6 separate regions of the Homo sapiens genome follow, and regions 1, 3, 4, 5 and 6 are each linked to region 2. Evidence: promoter capture Hi-C in 16 types of primary human blood cells and fetal thymus (Javierre and others, 2016). All regions are on one chromosome and are shown on one strand. Each heading gives the region's core, a stretch centred on a gene start or on the middle of the fragment in contact. The rest is flanking DNA. Distances are from core to core; before and after follow the strand shown. Region 1 overlaps CAPN7 (calpain 7). Region 2 holds the start of CCDC174 (coiled-coil domain containing 174). Region 3 overlaps LOC105376957 (a long non-coding RNA gene). Region 4 overlaps WNT7A (Wnt family member 7A). Region 5 overlaps HACL1 (2-hydroxyacyl-CoA lyase 1). Region 6 overlaps TMEM43 (transmembrane protein 43).

Region 1 (2,840 bases), core at 226-2,725, 560 kb after region 2:
GTTAGTAAAGGACTACTAAACTTGTCACTCTATTTTTTCTTTTCTCCCATCATGTCTTTCCCCCATGTTTGTTTCTCTTCTTCATTTTTATCTTTGAATCTTGATGCTCACTCTGTTGCTGCTCATTCCACTTTTGGTAATCACCTCTTTAAAAGTCATTTAGAAATAAGTCATAGATCTTTGAAGAGGAACCTTATAGACAATATAGTCCAGTTTCCTAATTTCCCAGAGTGCAGAGATGGTGAATTACCTATGTTCAAACAATTTATCATTGGCAAAGTTAGGATTAGGATTCAGTTAAAGTCTGCTTTTAAAATATCTGTCACGTCTCTTCCTTATAAAATTAAGTGACTGTTCCTCTTCAGTGTTTACAGACTTCAGCAGTAGGTTCACAGTGTCTTCTCTTTCGGTGTCTTCTACTTTCAGACCTTTGCTAAACTCTTTAAAACCATATCTTGGGAAAGTGACATGTAAACAGAGACTTGGAACTACTTGTATTTATTTTTGTAAACAGCACAACAGGTACAATAATAGAAATATATAGTCTTAATGGTCACAGTTTTGTTAGAGGTAACTGATGTTGACATTGTATTTACAAATACATTGATTTCTGTAGGGATTCTTTTTAACCCTCTTTTTCTGTTGCTGCATGATAAAGCGCCAAGCAGAAGAATATTTATTCTCATGGACTTTGTGTAACTTTCTACCACTCATTTTGAGTAGATACGAGCAATTACAAGAACATCGTTGGGATAAAGTAGATTTAATCATTGGATTCCTTGTTATGACAGTTCCCTTAAAAACAAGGCGGTTTACTTTTAATACAGTGCCCAGAAATTGCATGTATTGAAAAGTGTACTGCCTGTGTTATTGGAACCTCACTTGATACAAAGTATTGATTCATGTATTCAAAATATCATATAAAATTCAAAGGAACTTTCTTTTCCCAGCCAAGTAAATGAAGTTCTTAAATTTAACTGCCCAATATTAGGAACTTTGTTTCATAACCAGTGTTTTCAAATAAAATTATCTTTGAAGTAGGGAAGGTAGTCTTTCATGTTTACTTCCATGATCTCCTTGTTTTTTCATAGATAGTTTTCTTCATTTCAATAACTATGTATTGAATACATGTTTGGGCTCTATGGTAAGTACAGGGTAATAGATGAGTGACAGTCCATGTCCTCAGGAGGACTTCATCAGGTGTGGAGAGAGAACAGTGTCAACATTGCACTATCATGGAAACCCCTTTCTGAAGCATGCTAGACTAAATGTTAAAGCAGAATGCTCTAGAAAGGAGAGATTATATGGTGATATTATTCCAGGAGTAGAATCTCTGGCAGCCTAAGGTATATTTCCATCTTTCTTTTCCATATGTACACACAGTCAAGCACATTTATGCCCTAGGGTCTTGATTCCAGTAAGATTGCTCTTTAAACCCTTGAAATCCTTGTGACAATTGGAAAAAATAAATATGAATCATTTTTTTCTAAGGAATTTTAAAAATTATTCTTACTTTATATTAAATACAGCTAAGCCTAAAAACTTACATGTGATTTTTGGGAAATAAATTCTAAACATTGATATATATGTGATATTCAAGCATCAAATGAGACACCCCAATCTCTTGAAGAATAAAGACTTGCCAGTGAAATAGAGTTCAAAAAGGATTTTTTTTTTTTTTTTTTGAGGTGGAGTCTCGTTCTGTCTTCCAGGCTGGAGTGCAGTGGCGCGATCTCAGCTCACTGCCAAGTTCCGCCTCCGGGGTTCACGCCATTCTCCTGCGTCAGCCTCCCCAGTAGCTGAGACTACAGGCGCCTGCCACCACACCCAGCTGATTTTTTATATTTTTAGTAGAGACAGGATTTCACCATGTTAGCCAGGATGGTCTCGATCTCCTGACCTCGTGATCCACCCGCCTCGGCCTCCCAAAGTGCTGGGATTACAGGCGTGAGCCACCATGCCTGGCCTTAAAAAGGATTTTTAAAGCATAACATAGCTTGTTTTACCAACTTCTTTCTGCTTTTGTTGAAGAAATGGAGTATAATCTCTAGACAATTTAAAGGATTTTCTTATTTATTATTTTAAGCAGAAAAGTCCTTTTTCAAATAAAAATCCTGTTAGGAACCCTAAGTTTTAAAACAAGATAGTCTGCTGACAGTTAAGAGAATCCTGAGAGAGAGTTGATTTTGGGGTGGGGAAAGGTAACATAATTTAAAATTAACCAGTATAGGCCGGCACAGTGGCTCATGCCTGTAATCCCAGCACTTTGGGAAGCTGAGGCAGGAGAATCCCTTGAATCTAGGAGTTCAAGATCAGCCTAGGCAACATAGACTTCACCCCTACAAAAATTGAAAAAATTTGCTGGGCATGGTGGTGTGTGCCTGTAGTCCCAGCTCCTCAGAGGTTGAGGCAGGAAGATTGCTTGAGCCCAGGAGGTTGAGGCTGCACTGACCCGTGATTACACCACTGCCCTCAGCCTGGATGACAGAGTAAGACCCTGTCTCGAAAAATAAAAAGTAAAATTAACCGTCGTAGTACAGAGTTCAAGACTTGGAATTAAAAGATCCCTGTTGAGTCTCTACCCTTTCACTTGTAGCTGTGAAATCTTAGACTAGATCAATGGGTCTCAGTAGAAAGCAATTTGCCCCCCAGGGGACATTTGGCAATTTCTGGAGAAGTTTTTGGTTTTCACGCTGCTGGGTGGCAAGGAATATGCTTCTGGGATTTAGCTGGGTAGAGGCCAAGGCTGTTGCTAAAAAGTCTCCCACAACAAAGAATTATCCAGCCCAAAATGTCAATAATGCCAGGCTGAGAAACACTGGGCTAGATATTTCAACATT
Region 2 (2,786 bases), core at 194-2,693:
TGGCTTAAAACAACACAAACGTATTCTGGTAGAGTTCTGGAAGTCAGAAGTTTGAGATGAGTGTTACAAGACTAAAATCACCGTGTCAGCAATGCTGCATTCCTTCTGGAGACTCTGGAGGAGGGCTCATTTCTTTGCTTTTTCTAGCGGCCTCCTGCATACCTAGGCATGTGGTCCCACTCTCCCTCTTCAAAGCATCTCTGATCTCTGTCTGACTCTGGCCATCCTGTCTACCCCTTATAAGGATGGTTTTGATGATAGGGGACCCACCTGCACAATCCAGGCTAGCTCCCCATCTCAATCGCTTTAATTTCATCATCTCTGCCAATTCTCTTTTGCTATATAAAGGTCACCATATACCCAGATTCTGGGGATTAGAAGGTAGACATCTGGGAGTCGGGGTGAGGGTGATTGGTCTGTCTACCATAATCATTAACATTTTTATCAAGACTAGCTCATTTAACTCATCTAATCCTCACTAAGACCCATTAGGTAAATAAAATTATATCCCCCTTTGGAAACTGAGGCACACGGAAGTTAAGTAACTTGCCCAAGGTCACACAAGCAGTAAGCCGTGAAGAGCGATTCCAACCCAGAAAGTCAGCTTTCGAGTTCACGTGTTCTTTGTTTTTTTTTTTTTTGATCTCGACTCACTGCAACCTCCACCTCCCAGGTTCAAGCGATTCTTCTGCCTCAGCCTCCTGAGTAGCTGGGAATACAGGCGCGCACCACCACGCTCGGCTAATTTTTTTTTTTTCTTGTATTTTCAGCAGAGACGGGGTTTCACCATGTTGGTCAGGCTGGTCTCAAACTCCTGACCTCCTGATCCACCCGCCTCAGCCTCCCAAAGTGCTGGGATTACAGGCGTGAGCCACCGCGCCCGGCCCAGGAGTTCACGTTCTTAAGAGCTGAAATATGTAAAGTGGCCCATAATAAGCACTACATTAATGTTAGCTATTATTCTTGTTATTTCTACTAAGATTAATATAATAATCCTTATCTCGTACGCTCTTTTAAGAACCAACTATTTAACGTGTGAAAAGTGCCAGGCAGCAGGTCCTGGAATTGCAGTTAAGATTCTTCCGGTCCTCCCAATCCACCTTTCCCGAGACGCTCGAGTTCACTTACTTAAGCGTCAGCCTTCCCCAAGATGGCGTTATCTTTGTCGCCAACCCCACATCCGCCCCACCCAATATGGCGTCCATCGCAATCAAAAGCTTTATTCCGCCCTTCTCAAGATGGCGCCCACACCAATCCTTGTTACCTTCCGCCCTCAAGATGACCTTAGCAGTTAGCGTCAACCTCCGCACTCTATGACCTTTCCAAAATGATGGTGAACGTAATACGCACCACACTCTGACCTTCTCAAGATGGCGCTGAGCTGACAAACTCGCGTCGCAAACTCACGCAAACTCAGTGTCGCTGTCGAAGACACTTCCGGTTGCGACGGAGGTAGGCTTACGAGGCCTGTGTCGGGTAGAAAGGGTCCTTCCTGGACCGGGACCCTCTGCCACGACCATGGACCGTAGGAAAAAGCCTTTGGACGTCACGGCCTCCTCGGTGAGTGAGGGTATGAGGTAACTCCACGGGCTCCGGGTTCACCGTGTCTCCATCAGACAAGAATGTCGACCTAGCTTGTTTCTTCACTCGGGGACCCAGAGACCTGACCTCTCCCCTCAAACAGGAACCCCCGAACTGGATTTTCTTCTCCGGCGGGGATCCGGTTCAGTTTTCTTACAGGACCCTGAATTGGGCTACTCTCCTCTGACATGCGCCCGGGCCAGAACCCTCGGACACGGATCTGAACCTGGTGTCCCGTGGGTTAGGAAACTCCGTGCCTCACCTCTGCCCTGCCCACAAGGACCTGCACCTCGTCAGCCTTCTCCCTTACAGTCAGGAGGAACCCTAGCTTCTTTTTGCTATGCAGACATATCCTCTTCCTGGTTTCTCCTCCATCCAGGGACCCACAAAGTCCTCCCAGAACTTTAGAGTGTGACATATTTCGCAGGACCCGAAAGTGTCCAGCGTGCCCTCCCTGGAACTAAACAGTTGTTAATGCAGGCATAGGGAGTTGTGAGGTCTGAAAGGATGTAAGCAGATTTATTACATCAGCTACTCTAGAAAGAAAACTTGTTCTAAGTACACATTTTGTGCCAGCACTTTATATGCACTATCTCATTGAATCCTCCCAATGGCTTTAGGAGGTAGGTGCTATTAATATCTCCGTTTTATGGATGATGAAATTGAGGCCTGGAAAGATGAAGTAGCTTTCCCCAGCTTACAGACAGAAATCTTAGTGATAGCCGGGCGCGGTGACTCACGCCTGTAATCCCAACACTTTGGGAGGCTGAGGCGGGCAGATCACCTGAGGTCGGGAGTTTGAGACCAGTCTGACCAACATGGAGAAACCCCGTCTCTACTAAAAATAAAAAAATTAGCCGGGCGTGGTGGTGCACGCCTGTAATCCCAGCTACTCGGGAAGCTGAGGCAGGAGAATCGCTTGAACCGGGGAGGCGGAGGTTGCGGTGAGCCGAGATCGCGCAATTGCACTCCAACCTGGGCAACAAGAGCGAAACTCCGTCTAAGGGGCGGGGGGCGGGGGGAAGAAATCTTAGTGATAGACCCTTTCTCACTCACTCTACTTGACTCCAAAGCTGCTGCCTTTTCATCATCAGAGCAAATTGCCCAACCTTTGATTTAATCTTGAATTTACTTCAGAGTATTAGGACACAAAGTGAGTAGGAAGGAAAACATATAGGTGTCCCAATATTTGAGTACTAGTTATT
Region 3 (2,894 bases), core at 136-2,635, 750 kb before region 2:
TTGAAGACCACTAAGAAAGTGAGCAGGAGAGTGACTAAGAGGGAACCATTAGTTTTGGCACCATGAATGTTACTTGAGGCTCTCAGTGGAACCAGTGTCCTTTCCTTCAGATGCAGGAAACAGAAGCCAGTTGGATGCATTCTGGGAGAATAGGAGTTGAGGAAATGGAGGCAACAACCATAGATAGATACTTTTTATGACTAAAGAGAATGAGATGAAAGGATACCCACCCAGGGTATTAACACTGGTGGGCTCTGAGATATGGGATCAGGCTCATTCAGGAAAGTCTGTATATTGTTCTCATTTGTGGCCACTGAACTCTCTGTTTTGCTACCATGCAAATCAGCTATGAATTGGAGATATATTTTTTTAAAGTATAGAACTAAGACTCTTGGACTGCTGAGGGGCACTGTGTGTGTGTGTGTGTGTGTGTGTGTGTGTGTGTGTGTCTAGGCATGCTCTCAACACTTGGAGAGGCAGTTCATGACCCTGTCTTAGATTTTACTTCTGGCTCGTGCAGAGCTTCCTGGACAGCCTCAGGTGAGAACCTAGGGCCTTGTCATGTCTTTCCTAGCATACTTATAGTCCTGAGTATGCATGCTATTCCTATGCATGCTTAAAGCCCCCCATGGACACTTTGTTCCCTGGATTTTACTTTTTAAAAGCTTTTTTGGTTAGCTTGTTATTTGATCCACTCTTATCACTACCTCAGGCAGCTGCAGTATTAAACACTTGCCATTGATGATTTTTGATGAATGCCTGTGGAGAAAAGGCCTTTCACACTGCAGGAAATCTGAGTGAGGTAAAATAAAGAGAAGACCTTTGAGTGGCGCTTTCTTAGGAAGCTCCAGATTAAATAAGGACAGTTGTCTAGGATTGGGGTGTTGGATGTTTCAACCTGTTCTTCCTCTCCAGTAGCTGCTAGGTTGCAGATTTTAACTATGATTACTGATTTTTGATTTTCAAAGGTGCTGTGCAGTTGGGATAAAGTGAGTAAGAATAGAGCAATTTATATGCCAAAAGAAATGCTGTCCTTACCAATATTCAGCCATTTTCTTGAATAAATGCTCTCTGGATTATTATAAGATTTTGGTTAATTTCTAGAGTTCTGAAAGACTTGATTTCAATAATTATTGCCTGTGTTCCCATTGCTTTTATGGAGTAGGGGAGTTTTGGAGGTCCTTATTCTGCCATTCCCTTCTGACATCACTCTAGCTGCTATTTCTAGTAACTCCGTTTCCTGTCCAGTCCTCTTTGTGCTTACTCTCTGTTCTATATACTTTCTCTTTCATCTTTTCATCTTCCTTCTGATTATTTTATTGGCTTTCTGCATAATGCAAGATCATGTTTGAAATTACTCAAATGTTATCTTCCCTGAATTGTTTATTTCTGCACCAGTTGTCTTACAATGAGTACTTTTTCAGCTAGGGAAGAGGTCATTTGCAATTGAGCTCTCAATAGTTCTAGAAGGTGAGACATGAAACATACAATAGGACAATTCTGAACAAGGGTATTCCTAAGTTGACTGAAAGAATATTCACAAGGAAAAGCTCTTTGTAAAATTTATTTCAAAAGGAGGGGAGGGAGACTTGAAGCTAGGTACATTCATCTTCAATAAAGCATTGACTGTGGAGAAAGGAAATGAATATAGTAAAATTGGAAGCCAGTTTTTATCTGAGCTCAAAGCTAATTCCTCCAAGGAAAGCAGCATCTCATAGTTATTTGAGGGCATTTGAAGTGTAATTTTGATACAGTTGAGAGAAACTGTGCTAGCAAGAAATATTATAAACATAAAAATGTGGGAAATTATTAGTTCAACCTATGCATGTGTAAAACTTTTTTTAATATAATAATGTGGGACAACTTTCAGTTATAACAAACTTCATAAGACATCAAGAGGTTCATAGTGTAGAGGTTCCTATAAGTGTAATAAATGTAGGAAGGCCTTCACTAGAAAATTCCACTTCATTGTGCATAGAGAAGTCATACTGGAGAGAATTTTTATGATTTTAATTAAAGTAAAAAGCCACAGTACCAGGGGTTAAAATTCTTTAGCCACCCAAAATTTGTAGAAATGATAATCCTAATCAATATAACAAATATGGCAAAGCTTTCTTCAGTGGATAATACTTTATTGTATATCAGAAGAATCACACAGGAGGGGAAATTAGATTCCTATAGCTGCCAAAACAGATAAGCACAAATTGGGTGGCTTAAAACAACAGGAGTTTATTCTCTCACAGCTTAAGAGGCCAGAAGTCAGAAATAAAGGGATTTGGGAAGTTTGTTCCTTCTGGAGGCTCTCAAGAAGAAACTGTTCTATGCCCTTCTCCTAGATTCTGCTGGTTGCCAGTAATTTTTGGCATTGCTTGATGTGTAGCTATATCACTCCAGTCTCCATCCTCACATGGCTTTCTTCTCTGTGTGTGTCTCTGTCTCTTCTACTCTTCTTGTAAGGAAACCAGTCATCATATTTAGGGCATATCCTAATTTCAGTATGACTTTATCTTCAATAATTACATCTGAAAAGACCCCATTCCAAATAAAGTTACATTCCAAGATTCTGGGTGGATGTGAATTTTGAGGGGGAGGTGGACACTATTCAACCCACTACAAACCCCGTGAATGTAGTAAATGTGAGAAACCTTGTACCTGTAGCTCAGTTTCTGTACAACAATAGTAAGAAGTCCTTTGAATGCTAGCAATGTGGGCAGTTCTTTAACTATAAATCATCCTTCATTAGTATTGGAGAATTCATACTGGAGAGAATACAGTATAAACTGTAATTAGTGTGGAAATACTTTTCAAAATAACTTCTCTTTTACTAATGTAAAAACTCCTAATACTCCTAAATCTCATTAATATAGTCAATGTATTAAATTATTTAGATACCT
Region 4 (2,852 bases), core at 56-2,555, 770 kb before region 2:
ATACCCATCATGTGCCACGTACCATGCTAGGAGACAGCTGTGCACCTGACAGGCAATGCCCTGCCCTCAAGGAACTAGGGAGGGTGACAACACAGATGTCACAAATGAATAAAACAGGCCATCTCGACAGTGATATGTACTATGAAGAAAGTAAAGGAAGATGCTGGGATGGCAACTGGGGTGTGGGGGTGGTGAGGAAAGTGAGGGCCACTTTAGCTGAGGTGATCAAGAGGACTTCCTTGAGGAGTTGACATTAGAACAGAACAGAGATCTGAATTGCCAGGAGGCATCTGTGGGAAGATCTGGAGAAGGGTATTCTATGCAGAGGGAACAGAAAATGCAAAGTTCTAGGAGACAAGTTCGGGGTCTTCAAGGAATAGAAAGAACCCATGGAAACTGCTACAAAGCCAGGGCTTGAGATGCAGGGAGATCCTGGGAAGAGGAGATGGCTGAGGGCTGGCATTTTCTCAGGTGCATCAGGCAGCACCAGGAAGCACTGAAGGGTGTAAGCAGGACACTGACATGACCTGGTGGTCCCCACTCCATGTAGGAAAGACCTGTGGGGTGCCAGAGCAGGAGCAGAGGGACTAGGCAGGTTAGGGTTGGTGGTGGCTTGGCTTGGTGGCAGTGGTAGGGCTGCAGGTAGAGCCACTGGACAAGTGCCTCGTCCTGGGGCTCAGCTGTGGGCAGTTTTCTGGAGTTGCAATTTGTTAGAGTGAGGTTCTCCTGTACCAATAACTCAAGGAGGTGACATGGACCCATGCCCTCCAAGCGCACAACTGATCACTCCTGCCGTTTCCCTAGGCTCCTGCCACGTGCCAGCCTTCTCCCTGCAGTAGGCACTCTGTCCTTGCTCCTCCTCTCCCTGGAAGCGCTCTCACCCCTGATCTTCACAAGCTTGGCTTCTTGCCATTATTCACATGACCTCAAGGGTCACCTCCCTGACCAGCCCAGCTAAGGGCTCCTCCCTCCCCTCCCTACCCCTAATAAATTCCCATCACAATCTCTGTTTTGTTTACTGGATATTCTTGATTACTCATGGTCTACTGAAATGTTTTCATGTCTGTGTTTTTAATTTGCATGCTCACTTGATCACTTGTCTTCCTCCTGAGAGGATGAGCTCCCTGAGGGCAGGGAGGCTGTCTGCTGGTTCACTAAATGACTGCTGAATAAATGGATTGTGGCACTTCAAAGATGTGGCTCCGGGTGAGTACCTATTACATGGCAGGTGCCCCCCAAATATGCATCAAATGCATCAGTAAACTTGGGCAGTGTCCCTACTATGTGCCAAGGCAGTATGGTGGGTGCTGCCACAAACAGCAGCTCATGTGACCTTTCCACACAGCCCTGTGGGGCAAGAATCATCACATCCGTTTCACATATTTGAAAATTGAGGCTCACAGAGGTTGGGACCTGGAGGAAGGTTCTCAGCTAGCAGGTGTTGGAGGTGGGACAGCCTGGCTTTGCACTGGCATCTCAGCGCTAAACCCGAGTCTAACACACACTAGAATGCTGGGAATGTCTGAGGAAGAAGCAGCATGAGAAGATTAAGTGGAGACGTTTTGGCATCATTTGTCAGGAGGACCCTCTGAGCACCTAGCTGGCCACCAGGAAATTTCTACACCAGCTGAGAGTGGATAGGTTGGCATACTGGGGCCAAAAATTCATAGGTGCAATAGACTAGCCCCTAAGGGTCTGGCCTAGGTTCTCATCCAAGCTTCCTTCACTTATTAGTTGTGCGATCTTAGGCAAGTTTCCTTCCCTCTGCACTTCAGTTTCTCCATGGCTAAATTAGGGTATTGATAACTAGTCCCCACCTCATTGGCTGCTGTGAAAATCAAATGTGCTAGAACATGGAAAGTGCTTAGAAGGTGCCAGGCACATAGTGAGTGCCCCATAAATGTGGTGGTGGTGTTGTAATTATCATTATCGTTATCGGATCTGATTGTTGCAATAGGCTAGTGCGGAGTCACCTGAACTATCCGAGCAAAATAAGAATACCGCAGATGCCCCACCATCAGCCAGAAGCGGGTAGAGCCGTCACGTCTGGGGAAATGGAAAAACCTTTTAGGGACGTTGAGACTTCACCCCTCATGTCCACTATACAGATGAGTAGCCCGAGGCGCAGGGAGCAGCAGGGCCTGGCCCGAAGTCACCTGCAACTCCCACCTCTCCGACCTGGACCTCTCCCTACCCCAGAGGGCAGCTTGGGGCGGAAAGCCAGCGCCCTGCAGGACTCCCTCCCTCCCTCCCTGCCGGGCAGCTGGGCCCCCGCAGGGCCAATCCGGGGAGGCCGCGGCGCCGGCGGGAGGGCGGCCCGCGGGCGGGCGGGGCGGCCAGGGGAGGTTATTTTCTGCTGTTTTCCCTTTCTGTCTCCCCCGCCACCCGTGTCCCTCCTCCCCGTTTCTAATTAAAAAGGAGATAAAGCCGCACGCGGCCCGAGTCAATCGGCTCGAGCCAATCGGCCCTACTGGCTTCCTGGATGCTGAATGTGCGCGGGGCGGCGGGGCGCGGGCCAAGATGAAGATTAAAGCAGGGGAAAAAAAGGAAAGCCACCCAGACGCGGGCGAATCAATAACACTTAAAACACACCGGCAGGCTGGCGGTACTGGCGCGAGCCCCGCAGCCGCCTCTCCGCCGCTGGTCGGGCTGGCGGCCCCTGGTCGGCTCTGCACGCACCTGCTAGCGGCCGCGGCCGGACAACTTGCGAAATCCCCGCTCCAGAGACGTGGACTGGGGAAGTGACGGGGTAGGGGGGTAGTAGTGACAAAACACAAAGGGTCTGCCACGCACATCCCCTCGCCGCAGCCCCTGCGGTCCACCCCTCCTCAAAAGGGATGGTAATGGGTTCA
Region 5 (2,700 bases), core at 72-2,571, 950 kb after region 2:
ATGACCAATTCTTAACAGTTCTGAGATCATAGGTGATTTTCTTCATCTTTTTTCCTTTTTTTTTTTTTTTTTTTTTTTGAGACGGAGTCTCACTCTATCACCCAGGCTGGAGTGCAGTGGCGCAATCTCAGCTCACTGCAACCTCCGCCTCCTGGGTTCAAGCCGATTCTCCTGCCTCAGCCTCCCGAGTAGCTGGGATTACAGACGCATGCCACCACACCAGGGTGATTTTTGTATTTTTAGTAGAGATGGTGTTTCACCATGTTGGCCAAGCTGGTCTCAAACTCCTGACCTCAGGTGATCCACCTGCCTCAGCCTCCCAAAGTGCTGGGATTACAGGCGTGACCCACCGTGCCTAGTCGATTTTCATTTTCTTCTTTGTGCTTTCTATATTTTCCAAGTTTTCCAAAATGGACATTTTAAAAATGTATTAATTTTTAATAATAAAAAGGGGGTGGTAGTTAGGTAACATGGATACACACTAAAAAATCAGAACGTGTGGAACAGCTCTCAACAGTCACATTTTGAACCAAGCATTTTTGTATTAAGTGTGCTGGGGTAGTTGTGAGATCCAAGACAAGGTATCATACATCAACTCACTATCTGATCACCAGTGATTCACTCTACAAAATGGCAATGTGTTCCACTCTGAAACACTTCTGGTATCATTATTCTTTTGATGTGGTCCTCAGAGAGTTTTAAATGTTTTTTATCCTTTGTTATTTAATATATTTTTCTATAATCTTTCCAAATGAACTCATCCTTCAGCTGAAAGACGTAATAGTTCTACCCCAAAATATTAAAGTAATTGAAGTGAAACAAATTTTAGTTTACCTGCTTGTCAGATATCCAATCGCGGAGGCAGCATAACAAGCCTACGAGAAAACAACACTGGGACTTGAGCATATTGGGATCCTTATAGTACATTTATGACAGCAACTTACTATTAAATAATAGACAAGAACATAGTGGTAAAGGCAGAATTAAAATATTTCCAACCTTAGTAATAAATGTTCTACACATAAATTTCAAATAATGGTTATCTAAATTTTAGTTTTTCAGGAAATTTGTTCATATGTATGTTATTCAAAACATCCTCTTACAATTGCTTAAATATCTGCAGGATCAATAGGAATGTCCTCTTTTATTAACAATATTGGTAATTTGTTTTCTTTCTTTTATTCTTCATCAGTCTCATGAGGGGTTTATCAAATTTATCCATCTTTTCAAAGAACAAATTTTTTTAGTTCTTCGAAAATTTTTGTTGGTTTTTCTCTATTGTTTGTTTTCTATTTCATTGATTTCTGTTCTTGTATTTATTATTTCAGTCATTTTGAATTTGATTTGCTTTTCTTTTTCTAGCTTCTTAAAATACAAATTTAGAACACTGGTTTTTAATTTTCTTTACTAATAATTTGTTTAAAATGATTCCAAGAACTGCTTTAGTTATAGGTTACAAGTTTGAGTTGCATCTTTTCATTATCATTCTATTCAAAATATTTTCTACTTTCCATTGTGATTTCTTCTTCAACCCATTGGTTAATTAGGATCTGTAGTGATACCTCCTTTTTCATTCCTGACATTGGTAATCTGTTTTCTCTTTTATTCTCAATCAGTCTATCTTGAAGTTTATTCATTTTGTTAATCTTTTCAAATATTTACAAAATACCAAAAAGTATGTTGCTTAATTTCCAAAGGTCTGAGATTCTTTTTAGTGATCTCTTATTGAGTTCCACTTTACTTCCACATGGTCAGGTGACATATACTGCACGCTTTCAATCCTTGGCGATTTATTGAGATTTCCTTTATGGCCTGCATATGGATAGTTTTTACCTTGTAACTCTACTTCAGCTCATAATCAGGAAGAGAGGGGGCACTAAATTAAATGCACACAAGATAACCTGGGAAAATGCTGAGTGCTCTCTCAAATTCTTCTTAGTCTGGGACATCATTTTTTTCCCAGTATTATTTCTTCTCATTTCTTTAGAAATAATAATGAATTGCGTATTTCCTAGCCTTCATTCAGCTTTAAATGAAGTAGTATACTGTCTTAAAGAACTCCACATTAACGACATAAATGTGGAAAAAAAAAAAAAGGAAATGTTTATGGATCATAATCTTAACTGGCTCTACTATCATACACCCACTGAGAACCTGCACAAAGACTCTGCTCTTTTCCTGTGTCGCTATTCTCTACTGGCCCCATCTCTCTTTCCTTTTGCACATAAGGCCAAATTCACATTAGGAGAATAAGACAACTCCTAAGAAATGCAGGCATGTAAATACCTGCTGCAATAAGAACACTTTATTTAGACACCCAAAAGAATTGCCCACTTATGATAGCTAGGTAAGAAATGTTGCTAGGCAATGCAAAATATACAACAACACGTAACAAAAAGTATATTCCTCTGGTAGGAAATGTCAAAAGTTGAGAGGTAACTGTTTTGTTTTGTTTTATTTTGTTTTGTTTTGTTTTTTTTTTTTGAGACAGAGTTTCGGAGTTTCGCTCTTGTTGCCCAGGCTGGAGTGCAATGATGCAATATTGGCTCACGGCAACCTCCACCTCCCAGGTTCAAGCAATTCTCCTGCCTCAGCTTCCCGAGCAGCTGGCATTACAAACATGCACCACCACGCCTGGCTAATTTTATATTTTTAGAAACGGGGTTTCTCCATGTTGGTCAGGCTGGTCTCAAACTCCTG
Region 6 (3,013 bases), core at 461-2,960, 520 kb before region 2:
CCTAGATTTTAAAAAGAGAAAGGAGGATACTGAGTTAATCACAGTTCTTTCCATTGTGATCCATCCCACAGCTGATGTGAGCAGGAAGGGGAGTAGATCAGTTCACACACCTGAATATCCAGGGGTTAGCACCTGCCTCAGGCGTAGTTGGATCCAGGTGTTCATGCTGGGTCACCAGGAATCTCCATTTCTTCATCTTTTGCCTGTTTTTCTCTATTATGGTGTTTTTCTTGGGCAGGCACTTCATCTGTGATGGCAAATGTGGCCCCAGCAACTGGCCTACATCCAACCACTTAGCCCAGGGAAGAGAAAAACCATCTGTTTCTCTTCCTTTCTTTCTTTTCCTTTCTTTCCCCTCCCTCCCTCCCTCCCTTCCTTTGTTCCTTTCTTCCTTCCTTCCTTTGTCTCTCTCTTTCTCTCTTTCTTGTTTGTTTGTTTCTTTCTTTCTCTCCCTCTCTCTTTCTTTTTCTCCTTTTTTTTAATAGGGCCTCATGATGCAACAGTATATTTCTAAATCAATTTAGCAGCAGTTACAGGGCCATCTCTCAGTGTCCTGGCTTGGCTCTCCGTCCTCTGAATCAGTCTCCGTGTCCAGGGCGCACTCACATGTTCTGACTGGCAAGGTCTGGGTCCCATAATCTGACCAGGGTTCAGATAGACTCAGGTAAACCACATGGGCTGAGTAGGAGAGAGGAGAGCCAGGCATGGAGGCTCAAGCCTGTAACCCCAGCACTTTGGGAGGCCAAGGAGGCAGGATCGCTTGAGGTCAGAAGTTCGAAAGCAGCCTGGGCAACATAGCAAGACCCCATTTCTACAAAAAACTTAAACATAAAAATAAAATTAAAAAAAAGAAGGCAGAGAAAAATGGGGAGAAAGGGACAGGCAGGCAGAAACATCAGCTGTTCCCACCACTGGGGCAGTGCTAAGATTGGTGGGGGCTAGTGGGAACCAATGGGGCAGTAGGAAGAAGTCTCCCTGGGAAAGCAGGAATCTGGGTTCCAGTCCTTACTCTCCACTTGCTAGACCTCAGTTTTCCAACTGTACGGTGGGGAGATGGGTCTCAGCGCTCCCGGAGGCCCCATCCTACCCTAATACTTTGCAACAAGCACAGTCATGCTGAGCCACCCCTGAGCTGTTGAAATCCCCACTCCCCTTTGCTCCCAGGGCCGCGCATTGAAGACGGCAACCTCATTGGCTGAGGGGCTCTCGCTTGTGGTGTCTCCCGACAGCATCCACAGTGTGGCTCCGGAGAATGAAGGAAGGCTGGTGCACATCATTGGCGCCTTACGGACATCCAAGGTAGGTTTGGCAGGGGATGCTGACCTGCCAGTGGCTCGGGGCTCATCCTGGATGTTGTCTGGCTGAGGATTTGAAAGCATGGGCCTTGGAGATGGTCACACATGGGAGTGATTCCCGACTTTACCACTCAGCAGCTGTGTGGACTTGTCTATCCTGAGTCTCAGTGTCTTCGTGTATAAAATGGGGACGGTAATGGTTACAAGCTTGTGGCCAGCCTTGAGGATTTGGTGAGATTAGGTAACTAACGCCTTGGTACAGTGGCTGGCACTCAGGGAGGTGCTCTCATGACTCTGATGACCATGTGTGTCCAGTGCAAGGCCACAAAACTACCCTGGGCACCAGAGCTTTCCTGTTATTTGAACACCCTGTACGCTGTTGGCACCATGCCATTGGGCCATGCAGCCCAGGCCTGTACTGTGAGGGTCACAGTCACAGGCACTGTGTGTAAAGAACCTGGGACAGGGAGTGTCCTCGATTCTCCCCTGCAAAGCAGTGTAGGGCTCTCCACCCTTGTCCCCTTCTCTATTTCTTCCTCTTCCAGTCCAGCTTCCCCTGAGCCAGGCTTTCTGGGCTGACGTGAATGTTATCCTTTATTTTTTTGGTTTCTTTGATTCTGTTTGAAGCTTTTGTCTGATCCAAACTATGGGGTCCATCTTCCGGCTGTGAAACTGCGGAGGCACGTGGAGATGTACCAATGGGTAGAAACTGAGGAGTCCAGGTGAGCTGTTGGGGTGAAAACTCTGTTGGGGTAAAGGAGGAGTGAAGTGTAGGTGTCAGGATAACATGCAGATGTCTTTCATTTTGATACCTTTGAAACTCAAGTATAACATCTTCCTATCAGAAAAGTGTGAAATGATCCCCAAATTAATAGCCAGTGATTTGGAAGTGGCAAAAATCCAGTGAAGAGTGGCTCCAGGAGGAAAGGGGGATTGAGTTGCTCCCACATCTGGGAAGTTCCAGAGATGCACAAGCTTGAAGCATGACTTGGAGCAGGCCTGAAACACTGTCATTAGGATCAGCATGTCAACCCCGAGACCCCACTGCATCTCTCTGTGTTCAGCCTTCCCATCAGCTGTGTTGGTCCCATCTTTGCTCTACTTACAGCTTATCGTTTCTGACAGGAGTCCCAGGGCAGGTTCTCATTGATCAGGGCTGGGGTCACCTGGAGCTGGGGGTGGGTTCAGCCCCACCTGAATCATATGGACTGTGACCGACAGGTGGGGAGGTGGTGGGAGGAGCAGGAGAAGGGCAGCTTCAAGAGGCCCCCCGCAGGGCTGTCCTGGAGCAGAGGATGCAGCCAGATCTCTGAGCCCAAAGGGCAGGGCTGGGCCCCTTGGTGTAAGGCCAGTGCGGGCAGATTTCAGCTCAGGATGGGAGAGCGCTTTCCTCCAGGTAGCGCCTTGGAGGGCAGGAGCTGGCTGTCTGTCAGGAGTGAGTGCCCTGTCTTGGGGCTGGTGTAGAGAAGGCATCTGCCGTATCTGGGGAGTCTGATCTGGTAGCCCTGAGGTTGCTTCCTGCTCAGATGCTTAGAGATTAGACTGCCTGGGGCGACGAGGCTAACCCCCGTGGCTGCTTTGCTTTCCCTGCAGGGAGTACACCGAGGATGGGCAGGTGAAGAAGGAGACGAGGTATTCCTACAGTGAGTGCTGGGCCCCTTACGTGGTCTCTGCCCATGGTGGGGGCCCACAGTGGTGGCTGGACAGCAGGGCTGTTG

What was found. The method cuts DNA at HindIII sites, captures the fragments that hold promoters and counts their contacts. A CHiCAGO score of 5 or more calls a contact.
Region 1: a fragment that was not itself captured here is called in contact with the fragment with the promoter of CCDC174 in region 2 in 2 of 17 cell types (fetal thymus and naive B cells); the score reaches 5.1 in fetal thymus.
Region 3: a contact is called between a fragment that was not itself captured here and the fragment with the promoter of CCDC174 in region 2, in 1 of 17 cell types (non-activated CD4 T cells). The highest score is 6.8, in non-activated CD4 T cells.
Region 4: a contact is called between a fragment that was not itself captured here and the fragment with the promoter of CCDC174 in region 2, in 1 of 17 cell types (total CD8 T cells). The highest score is 5.5, in total CD8 T cells.
Region 5: a contact is called between a fragment that was not itself captured here and the fragment with the promoter of CCDC174 in region 2, in 1 of 17 cell types (neutrophils). The highest score is 5.4, in neutrophils.
Region 6: a contact is called between a fragment that was not itself captured here and the fragment with the promoter of CCDC174 in region 2, in 7 of 17 cell types (monocytes, total B cells, neutrophils and 4 more). The highest score is 8.1, in monocytes.

What each region holds. Positions count from the first base shown.
Region 1 is chr3:15,212,213-15,215,052 of GRCh38, forward strand. All of the region lies in intron 2 of CAPN7 (calpain 7), which reads left to right. Among named protein-coding and RNA genes, the nearest start is that of CAPN7, 7.4 kb to the left of the region's middle. The HindIII fragment of the contact is 7,625 bases long and covers 1-2,840 here.
Region 2 is chr3:14,650,319-14,653,104 of GRCh38, forward strand. CCDC174 (coiled-coil domain containing 174) reads left to right here and starts at 1,444. Exons shown (of 11, transcript NM_016474.5): 1 at 1,444-1,560. The coding sequence starts at 1,519. It overlaps LOC124909347 (a long non-coding RNA gene), which reads right to left and starts at 1,803. Exons shown (of 2, transcript XR_007095826.1): 1 at 1,351-1,803; 2 at 1-908. RefSeq lists enhancers at 985-1,643, 1,147-1,546, 1,687-1,756. The HindIII fragment of the contact is 1,793 bases long and covers 1,216-2,786 here.
Region 3 is chr3:13,899,840-13,902,733 of GRCh38, forward strand. All of the region lies in intron 2 of LOC105376957 (a long non-coding RNA gene), which reads left to right. Among named protein-coding and RNA genes, the nearest start is that of WNT7A, 21 kb to the left of the region's middle. The HindIII fragment of the contact is 1,445 bases long and covers 664-2,108 here.
Region 4 is chr3:13,875,882-13,878,733 of GRCh38, forward strand. All of the region lies in intron 1 of WNT7A (Wnt family member 7A), which reads right to left. Among named protein-coding and RNA genes, the nearest start is that of WNT7A, 2.8 kb to the right of the region's middle. RefSeq lists an enhancer at 2,663-2,852. The HindIII fragment of the contact is 820 bases long and covers 896-1,715 here.
Region 5 is chr3:15,595,550-15,598,249 of GRCh38, forward strand. HACL1 (2-hydroxyacyl-CoA lyase 1) reads right to left here. Exons shown (of 17, transcript NM_012260.4): 3 at 835-875. Among named protein-coding and RNA genes, the nearest start is that of HACL1, 4.7 kb to the right of the region's middle. The HindIII fragment of the contact is 4,835 bases long and covers 1-2,700 here.
Region 6 is chr3:14,129,658-14,132,670 of GRCh38, forward strand. It overlaps TMEM43 (transmembrane protein 43), which reads left to right. Exons shown (of 12, transcript NM_024334.3): 3 at 1,165-1,299; 4 at 1,923-2,017; 5 at 2,889-2,938. Among named protein-coding and RNA genes, the nearest start is that of TMEM43, 6.1 kb to the left of the region's middle. The HindIII fragment of the contact is 420 bases long and covers 1,501-1,920 here.